3 separate regions of the Homo sapiens genome follow, and all the other regions are linked to region 2. Evidence: promoter capture Hi-C in human tissues and cell types (Jung and others, 2019). All regions are on one chromosome and are shown on one strand. The core of a region is centred on a gene start or on the middle of the fragment in contact, and the rest is flanking DNA. Distances in the headings are between cores, read along the strand shown. Region 1 overlaps UTRN (utrophin). Region 2 holds the start of UTRN (utrophin). Region 3 has its middle 16 kb from the start of TRL-TAA1-1.

Region 1 (3,162 bases), core at 266-2,765, 45 kb after region 2:
ATATTCTTAGGAGTGTCAGGGGTGTCTAATAGTTGAGCTGTTAAGTAACTCTTAAACTTGTTAATGTCTCTTGGGAATTTCTTCTTTTAGAGTTGTTTTGTATTAAAACCAAGGAAATAAATATCTTTATTTGTTTTAAAAATAGTATCTTAATTTATTAATTTTGTTTATTTTGCAAAGTCTTTTTAAGGAAATATTATTTCCTTTTACAATGAGTAAAAATACATTCATTCAGAACAAAATATAATTGTTTCTTGGTGCATCAGATGTTTATATCTCATGATAGTGATCTGTTAATAGATCAGGGTTTTTATTCTTTATCTTCATCCCCCCTTCATTGCCCCCATAGACTCCTTTGGCAGTTTAGTGAAGCCAGACAAATTTTTTTTTGAGACAAAGTCTCACTCTGTTGCCCAGCCTGGAGTGCAGTGGTGCGATCTTGGCTCCCTGCAACCTCTGCCTCCCAGGTTCAAGCGATTTTCCTGCCTCAGTCTCCCAAGTAGCTGGGATTACAGTTGCAAGCCACTGTACCCAGCTAATTTTTTGTATTTTTGGTAGAGACGGAGTTACACCATGTTGGCCAGCCTGATCTTGAAGTCCTGACCTCAGGTAATCCCCCTGCCTCGGCCTGCAAAAGTGCTAGGATTACAGGTGTGAGCCACCGCACCTGGCCTTTTTTTTTTTTTTTTGAGATGGAGTCTCACTCTGTCACCCAGGCTGGAGTGTAGGGGGGCGATCTCGGCTCACTGCAACTTCTACCTCTCGGGTTCAAGCGATTCTCCTGCCTCAGACTCCCGAGTAGCTGGGACTACAGGCGCACGCCATCATGCCCAGCTAATTTTTGTATTTTTAGTAAAGACAAGATTTCACCATGTTGGCCAGGATGGTCTCGATCTCTTGACCTTGTGATCCGCCTGCCTCGGCCTCCCAAAGTGCTGGGATTACAGATATGAGGCACCGCACCCAGCCTGACAAATATTTTTAAATGCATAAAATAGAGTACATGGTATTCCATGCATACAGTTACCAAAATACTGAAAAAGTCTGTGAGAGAGTAGTATTTGCTGTTTCATTAGTGTGTTCAGTAAGAACTTCTAGCATCTCTAACCTCTCTACTCTTCTGAAATAACAACGAGCCAAATGGTATTTTCAAGATACCTGCTAGAGTTGTAAGGTGATGTGAAAATGGTTATGATTTTTGCTGGTGACACAGTCAAAGCTACCACTAATAATGTGTTTTGTGATCTGCCATCACAATGGAAGGAAATGCAAATTTCTGTTAGAGGTCAGTGAAAAGATCTAATTGCTTTTCCTGTCCAAGTTCATGGACCCCCTGCCTGGTAATAACCCCTGATAAAGATGATGGCTTAAAATGAGTATTTGTTTCCTTAAACCTCAGCAGTGGCAGCAGTGTGCCACAGAGTGTTTCAAAAGAGACAACAATTTTAAATGGAAAGTAGTCTTGGGTGAATGCCCCATATGGCAGGCACTGCACTGGGTGTAGTTGACAAAACTGATGAGCTCTATGATGGCATCTGGCCTCTTGAGTGTGTAGACTAGTACGAGAACCAGACATCAAATTGCAGAGCATACAAATAGTTGTTTAACTGCTTAGAGGGTAGACATTCTGCAGTGCTGTCATGGCAAATCACTCGGGGACTTCATAGGGACCTGGAATGAGTGATAGTTTGAGTGGTCAGGGAAGGCCTTCTTGAGGAATCTATTCAAGTCCATAGTTCAAGGTGGTGGAGGGCACTGGCTGAAGGCAGAGCTGTGTGCAGGCTCTAAGCTGGCAGAACTTGGCCCACAGAAAGCCTGATTGAGGCCGGTGATTGGGAGTGAAGTGAGCAGAGGGCTGTGGATTAAAATTGGCAGAAAGATGCAGTCTGCATTTCACTCAGTAGTATTTCTTATCCTGATTGAAGGGGCATGGTTTACCTCTTAGTTTGAGGGCATGTATTATTTAGTGCATTAATGGATGGATCCCTAAAAGCATTAGGAATTAGTCTGGAGTATGTAGGTTGAAAAATAGGTTATAAAATTGATGAGAACAAGCTCTCTTGCAAGAGTTAGAAACATAAAAACAAATTTTTCTAAAGCTAAATTCCTTAACATTTTTCCTCACTCAGATTTCTATTTGGCTTGAATCTAAGGAAAACCTGAGAAGAGAGGAAGTGCTTGGCTTCTCTGTATACCAAGCAGTTTCAACAGTGGTGTTTGTAGAAATGCATACCTTGCTGTTCCTAGGCAGATAAGTGTTGTCACACGTCTTCAGATTTTAAGGCGACAGGCTCCACACCTGGCAGAGGCTCAGACAGAGCAGACCAGGATTGGGCTATTCACAGAGGCAGGAATGTGACCATTCTGGTCCGGGCAGTTGGGGAGGAACTCATCTATCCACGGTTCCCATACTGTTTGGCCCTGTTTTTCAATTTGACTCCATCAAAGCACATTCTCCAGCCGAGGGGTACACATCCCTTTGTGACTTCAGAAATCATGCACTGTTGGTTTGGGAGTCTTAACTACATTTGGAGGACACGCTGAGCCGACGAGAAATGGAAGTGAGATCTGAATCCACAAACGGAGACGGCAGACAGTCACAGGCAGGTAAAGACTCATTGAGAATGTGGCTACTTAAATTTTGTCCACCTGTTCATTGAAAGGAAGCCGAGGCATGACTCTCCGCCAATAATTAGTGTGAAAATTACTGAGTTAACAGATTCTAAATTATTTTGTCCTCTGGGTGACCTAGGAAGTTTTTAAAAGACGTTTTTTCTAAATAATGTCATGAAATAAGATAGTTACATGTAAAGAATCTAACAAGGTCAGTCATTAAAAACATTTTCTAAATATGATTTATTTTGCTTACTAACCTTGTAAATCATCTAGGATAGGACCACTGTCAGCCTCAGAGCCTGGCACAGAACTTGGCACTTAATGCGTGTTTGTTGAATATGAATGGATTGGGTCCAGTGTCTAATGATACGCTATGAAAGTTATTCCATCACTTCTCCGTGATGGAAAAAGATTTACCGAAAAGTGTCTGTTGTATGAAAGTCATATGGGGTAGAAATTAAACTGTAAATGAGTTAAGGAGCTGTAACCTTGGCGCTATTCCAAATCTCCAACAATTGAGTAGTTAATTAGTGCCCCTGCATCCAT
Region 2 (3,567 bases), core at 155-2,654:
AAATGAATGAATGAAGTGAATGAATAAAATCATACCCATTTCAAGTTAATCCTTTGGATTTTATTTGGCTTATACGTAGAAAATCATCAAAAGGAAGGAAACTGTCCTAGAAACCTTACAAGGAAGAGTCTCTTTTGGGAATCTCCTACCTGCCCCCTCCCTGGAGCACTTAGGGATGGATGGGGGAAACTTTCACTATAACAAAAGGCGAGTAAACTCTTTCTGAAAATTAGTTTAAGGCCCCTAGTGGTTTAATCTTTACTGCCGCGTAAATTAACTCAAATATTAAGCCAGCAATAAACCGGCGCTCCAGTATCAACCATCCTTTTCTCTGTTAATACGAACTAGGAACTCAGGTTGCTGTTTTCTTTCCCCTCCCACGTGTGCTGATCGTGTAAAAGAATCACAGGAACACACGAGCAATGAAATGTGTAAATAAGAAAAATGCACACACATCACGAGCTCATTTCTTCCCAGATATTTTTTGGTCAACCTCTCAAGCTTGGAACAGGCTCTATAACAGATGTGCGTTTGTGTGTGCATATTGGAAAACAGAAAAATAAGGTCAGCGCAAACACTACTTGTAATACAAACTAATGTAAGAGAAAACTTCTTTTTCAATATTAACAACGACACTAGAGAAATAATGTAAAATAAATATACGGTTGGAACTAGGGGTAAAAAAAAAATCAGCAACGTCAGCAAACTGAGATGGGGTGAGTTGGAAGGCAGATTGGAATTTATCTCTTAAAAAAATATCACCCTAACTAGAGACCTGTTTTGCCTAAGGGGACGTGACTCACATTTTCGGATAATCTGAATAAGGGGAATTGTGTCTGCTCGAGGCATCCATTCTGGTTCGGTCTCCGGACTCCCGGCTCCCGGCACGCACGGTTCACTCTGGAGCGCGCGCCCCAGGCCAGCCAAGCGCCGAGCCGGGCTGCTGCGGGCTGGGAGGGCGCGCAGGGCCGGCGCTGATTGACGGGGCGCGCAGTCAGGTGACTTGGGGCGCCAAGTTCCCGACGCGGTGGCCGCGGTGACCGCCGAGGCCCGGCAGACGCTGACCCGGGAACGTAGTGGGGCTGATCTTCCGGAACAAAGTTGCTGGGCCGGCGGCGGCGGGGCGAGAGCGCCGAGGGGGAGCCGGAGCGCTGCAGAGGCGCGGGCCGGAGGGCTGGCGCTGATCTGCACCCTTCTCATCTGGAGAGCGGACCCCTGGCTGCCCGGAGGCGAGCCCCTTCCCGGGGGGTGGGGGCGGCAACGCGCGACCCAGCGGTCCTGCGCCCCACCCTCCCTCCTCCGCCTCCAGCGCTCGGCTCCAACAAAGGGGCAGGCCCGCAGCGGGGAGGAGGAGGAGGAGCCGCCGAAGGAGCGAGCCTCTCTCGCGCACAAAGTTGTGGAGTCGTTTTTCCTCGGAGCAGGGAAGCGGGCAGCAGCAGCCGGCCGCGGGCTTTCTCCCGCCGAGGGGCGAGGAGGAGCCTCTGGCTCCAGAAGCCGATTGGGGAATCACGGGGAGCGGCGCCCCCCTTCTTTTGGGTCATTTCTGCAAACGGAAAACTCTGTAGCGTTTGGCAAAGTTGGTGCCTGCGCGCCCCTTCCAGGTTTGCGCTTTGACTGTTTTGTTTTTGGCGGAACTACCAGGCAGGAAGATTGCACAAGTAAGGGGCGTTTTCAGTCGGGTGTCAATTTCTCTTTCTTTCTTTCTTTTTTTAAAATTTCGGTTCGTGTCTGCTTCTCCAAGCTTTATTTTTTTTTTTAAATACATCGCACCACCAAACTAACACTCGCACACACCCCCGCGGTTACTCCGTGTCAAACTCCTAGAGGAGCCCTTGGCCAGCTCGGGGTGCGGCGGTGGCGACCGGCAGGCGAGGAGGCCCGCGGGCAGCAGGTAAGCCCATGCATTATTGAAGCCTCGGGCTGGTAATGTGACTACAGCCCCCGAGGGAATGGGGCGGGGGCCGGGAGGAGGATGGCTCTTTCTGTGGTTCTTCCGCCTGGGATCGGCGTCCCGAGCTGCTTCCCAAGTCCCAGAGTCGAAGATGGGAGTAACTTTTGCGTGCCCTTTCCTCGGGGCCTCAGTTTAGCTCCCCGCGGTGCGAGAGAGAATGCCGGAGGCGTGGAGAGCTCGGGCGTGGAGGTCCTTGGGATCCGTACTAGTTGTGAACGATCCAAACTTATCTGACCAGCTCTGTGCTGCCTCCCTGCTCCCCTAATCTTCCTCCCCGCCGGGGTGACAGAGTCGCCCTCCGTGCATCGCGCGGTGCAGGGCGCTGGGCCAGTGATTTGCAAGAGGGGACGTGGCCTCTTAGGAGAGTCTGTCACAGACACCCGGGCCCGGGGAAGGCGGGGCTCCGGCGGTGTCCACAGGAGAGGGTGGGCAGAGGGTGGCTGTGTGGTCGGCGGCCAGCGGAGCGCTTCCCAGCCAGCCGCCCGGCGGGGAACGTGCTTGACCTCTGGGTGGTTGCTGCTCCCAAGGGTGGGGCTCCGGAGAGTGTGGCGCGATCGCCAAGCTCCCTGGCAGCGGCCCTGGAGAGACTGAGGGGACAGGAGGAGGGGGGCGCCCCATTGGTGTGTAGTCCCGCGCAGTCGCCGGCTCTCCTTTTCCGGACTCTGGGGATCTCTTGCTGCAACTGACAAGGTAATTCATGCCCCGCTTTGGCCCGGGGTCCGAGGCTGTGGTTGCTCAAGGCCACTTAAAAACCAACAAAGCACCAATTGAAGGCTGTGCAACTTTCAGATGGCAGGTTGTTCAAAGGATTTTTTCCTCCAAGCCTCAGATTATGAAAGGGACTCATTCCAGTGCGTTTTTCGAGGAGGAGGGAGAAAACGTTGCCCGACCTCCGAGAGAGCTGTGGGACCAGCACTTTATTTTACAAGGAACTGCAGAGCTCGGGTTCTAACTCCACGGCCCCGCTCTCTGAGGTGTTCAGGACAGGGCCTCCTCTTTCCCAGCCTTCAGGTCAGCCGGATCACCAGGGCCTTGCGGGCCAGTTCCCCCTGCCGCGGTTGGGAGGGTCAGTGCAGCGGTCGCCGCGGCCAGAGCGCGCGGAGCTCGGGGGAGGCCGGATTCCCTAGGTCTGAGCCGACCCTCCCGGCCGCCCGGCCGGGCGGCAGCGACCGCATCCATTCCTTTGTAAGTTGCACCGGCCTCAGGAAGTCGATCTGGGCCCTCCCGGTTCGTTGGCGGTGGGCGTGGGAGACGCAGCCTGCGGATAGCTCAGGGTCAGGGGAGAGGTGGAGGAATGCGAAGCTTGTGGGTAGTTCTGCGGTGACGGACAGGGTTGGCGTGGAACCATTCCCCGCCCCTTTTACCAGCCTTTATGGGACCGATGAGACAACTCTTTAACTCTCCTTTGGGTGTTTACCTAAAATTTATTGGCTCTGTAAACAGTATTAATCACAGTAGTATTAACCTTCCCTGGAGCGCTTCCGAGTGTAAATGGCAGTTCTTGGCACTCACCGTTTTCTTTTACTGTGTTTCAAGCAGAGCAGCAAACTCTTGTCCGCTTGGCTTCCTTTTCTACTATCTCAATCGTTCCTAGGTTTTGGTTCCTATAGTAAATT
Region 3 (3,127 bases), core at 29-2,528, 53 kb before region 2:
CCAATAATATGAACATTATGGTGCCAAGCAGAGCAGACAACAGCTTGTATGTATATTTATTTTTAAGTTTCTTTAGAACATTGAAGGAGCAAAAGAGTTTCTAAAACTGAAGGCTCTGGATCCCTCATTCTCTGCTTCTCCAAAGATCCTCAAATGTATGAGATTAAAACTCGAGAGAGTAATAAGATGGGAGTCATCAATATATAGGTGGCAAAGGAAGCAAAGGCCTGAATACAATTATGCAAGAAGAGAGGATGGTGAGAAGAGGGTCTCTGAGAGTACTACAGAAAGTGCATTTATTTTTGAGATGGAGTCTCACTCTGTCGCTCAGGCTGGAGTGCAGTGGCATCGTGATCTCAGCTTACTGCAATCTCCACCTCCCAGGTTCAGGCGATTCTCGTGCCTCAGCCTCCCAAGTAGTTGGTATTACAGGCATGTGCCACCATGCCCGGCTAATTTTTGTATTTTTAGTAGAGACAGGGTTTCACCATGTTGACCAGGCTGGTCTTGAACTCCTAATCTCAAGTGATCTGCCCACCTCTGCCTCCCAAAATGCTGGGATTACAGGCGTAAGCCACCTTGCCAGGCCAAGAAAGCTCACATTTAAGTGATATTAGATATATCCTTGGATATATCTCTGCACACAAACTAATTTGGCTGGCTTTTGTTTGCATTCCTTGGCAAAGTCAGTTGTAAAGTCAGTTGTTTGATTAGACTTTCCAAGTCCTTTGAAGTAAATTAATACTTGTGTGCAAGCCCAATCTATGTTAGAGAAAAGCAAAACTAGGAAAGCAGCATTTTTTGGAAGGGAAAACCTTCTTTATGTCAGGCTCCACAGTCCTGCCAAAGTCCTTCTTTAGGCGCATCTGGGAAAAGGAAGGGAATCACTAACTCCAATCTTAACCCTGGCTTGAATCTTCACATTGGCCTTGACCCGGGAAGGTATTATCATCTAAGCCACTTTTTCATTTTATCTAGAATTTGTCACTGACACATGAAGAGAGGCTGGAAAATGGGAAGGAATAAAGTTCCTGAGAAACTGACCTGCCGTTTTGGAGCTAGAATCAGAATGGAAATTTGGAACTTGGAAGACTTTCTGTTTTTTTTTCCCTCTGTTTGTATTTTCTATAATTATTTCCTTTTTGTGAATACATGGTATTGTGTAAAGTTCTCTATTCATGTAAAGACAGTTTCTTCTATTTATTTCTGTTTCTCAGTGCCTGGCATTATTGCTTGCTAAATATATTTCACCATTTACTCCAGGCTGAAGCATTGACACCATTTTGTGGCTTCCCCACATCCAACTCCAAGCTGCACTTTTCACAGATAAATCACTGTAATTAATCACGCTCTTGAAAAGGAACAGGAGGTGTAAAAGCCTAACTAATGTGCACCTTTAGCCCACTCCAATGACGCTTTGGAAACCGACTGCTGGAACCCTTAACTTTGGCTCTGTATTTCCAGATCCTCTAGCAGTATGAGATCATTGAGATTGTGGAATGAGCTGGGAAATTTTATTTTTCAAAAGCAACCAACCATACCTGTATATTTGTAAGGATTTTTATGGAGTCCTGCAATGTCAATCCTTAGGCTTGGCTAGTTCATCAACAAACTCAGAAACAAACTGAAAACTAGAGGCTTGGAATTCAGACAGAACTTTCAAAGCCAGGGCTAGAGATGTTTGTATTAGGTTGCTTTGGTTTATTTTTAGAAGGCAACTGTTTTCTCACGAGCAATTTTCTTAGGTAGCTTAAAATACAATCATAGCCACAAATTTGAATCCTCTTTCCTTGAAAAAAGGGGGGAAAAAGAAAAGGAAGATTGCTAAAAATTATTTCCTATTCTAGTATGAGGTAGAAAGAGCTTTCTAATTTTTTTTTTTCCTCAGGTAGATGAACAAAAAATGCCCCACATAAGTACCTTGAATTGACTTTGTAAGGATAAAGGCAATCACTGTTTATGCTTAGGAAATGTATCGCATTGGGACCTTAATGTTGAGTACAACCTCTTACTCCACCATAGTTGCCAAGTTTTGCTAAATTTTTTTTCTGCTGCAAAAGTTTATTGTTTCATTGCCGGGGAGCACCTCCCAGGCCCTGGGGAAAAAGCCTTGGTTCTCACAAGTGGTTCATATTTTAATCCACTTTATTCCTGCCCTTTCTATTTTAAATGTTTTCAAAATGAAATCTCCAAATTGCATTCTATACAAGGAAATCTTGGTGGAAAATACTAGGGTATAACTCATTCTCACATAAGCAATTGTTTTAGATAATTAAAAAAAATCCTTCTTTCTCACAAGAAGAAGCTGAGAAAACAATTTCAAGAATTCCCACTCACTGAAAGCCAGTTTTCTGAAAGCTAACTTATAGAATAATCTGACATATCAGATTTACATGAATTTACAAAATTTGCTAATAGTGAATTTAATAAGAATGTTAAATTCACTATGGGCTTTCACAAGATGTTCAACTTTTCAAAATTTCAGCATCTCCTATGGGAATCCTTTAGTCCATATTTTCTTCTTAATATAGAAGATCATTTTAGCTAAATTCTGATTTACTTTTAGATGGTCTTAAACTTAAAATCTAAAGCTGATAGAACTATGAAAATATTCCTGATAGGGCTAATAAATATGTAAGTAAAATTGATAAACCTGATAAGTTGGTCATTTGGCAAATTTGCTTGGTGTAAACTTGATGGGTGGTGACTGAACAAGACTTTGCCCCATTACATGGTGTAGTGTGTACACTGCATAAATCCAGGGGCGCCATTTACACAGAGTATAATATGAATAGAGCCCCCTGGAGTTGTGCAACACAGAGGCCCTAGACTTAACTTGGATCATAAGATGTCTGGCCCCAGCCAAGTGGCATGTTGTGAGCTCTATTAACTAAACTAACAATTCCAATTTAATTTGAAGGAGCACACAGATCTTAGGAGTTCATACAAAGAGGATGAAGGAGAGTCAGCAGCACAGCTTATAGGGTATGTGCTACAGACTGAATGTTTGTGTACCCACCCTAATTCATATGTTAAATCCTAATACCCAATGTGATATTTGGAGATGAGGCCTTTGGGATGTGATTAGGTCATGAGGGTGTAGTCCTCATAAATGGGATTAATACCT

What was found. Contacts are between HindIII fragments. The study calls those that stand out against the background at their distance.
Region 1: a contact is called between a fragment that was not itself captured here and the fragment with the promoter of UTRN in region 2, in 3 of the 25 tissues and cell types used here (bladder, pancreas and spleen).
Region 3: a contact is called between a fragment that was not itself captured here and the fragment with the promoter of UTRN in region 2, in 1 of the 25 tissues and cell types used here (spleen).

Annotation. Positions count from the first base shown.
Region 1 is chr6:144,328,412-144,331,573 of GRCh38, forward strand. The region is part of intron 2 of UTRN (utrophin); the gene reads left to right. Among named protein-coding and RNA genes, the nearest start is that of UTRN, 45 kb to the left of the region's middle. RefSeq lists an enhancer at 2,321-3,162. The HindIII fragment of the contact is 5,071 bases long and covers 1-3,162 here.
Region 2 is chr6:144,283,931-144,287,497 of GRCh38, forward strand. It overlaps UTRN (utrophin), which reads left to right and starts at 1,405. Exons shown (of 75, transcript NM_007124.3): 1 at 1,405-1,891. LOC124901418 reads left to right here and starts at 2,568. Exons shown (of 1, transcript XM_047419641.1): 1 at 2,568-3,567. The coding sequence starts at 2,741. The coding sequence ends at 3,349. RefSeq lists an enhancer at 775-844 and silencers at 975-1,034, 1,245-1,344. The HindIII fragment of the contact is 2,482 bases long and covers 1,122-3,567 here.
Region 3 is chr6:144,230,962-144,234,088 of GRCh38, forward strand. No RefSeq gene overlaps it. Among named protein-coding and RNA genes, the nearest start is that of TRL-TAA1-1, 16 kb to the left of the region's middle. The HindIII fragment of the contact is 8,996 bases long and covers 1-3,127 here.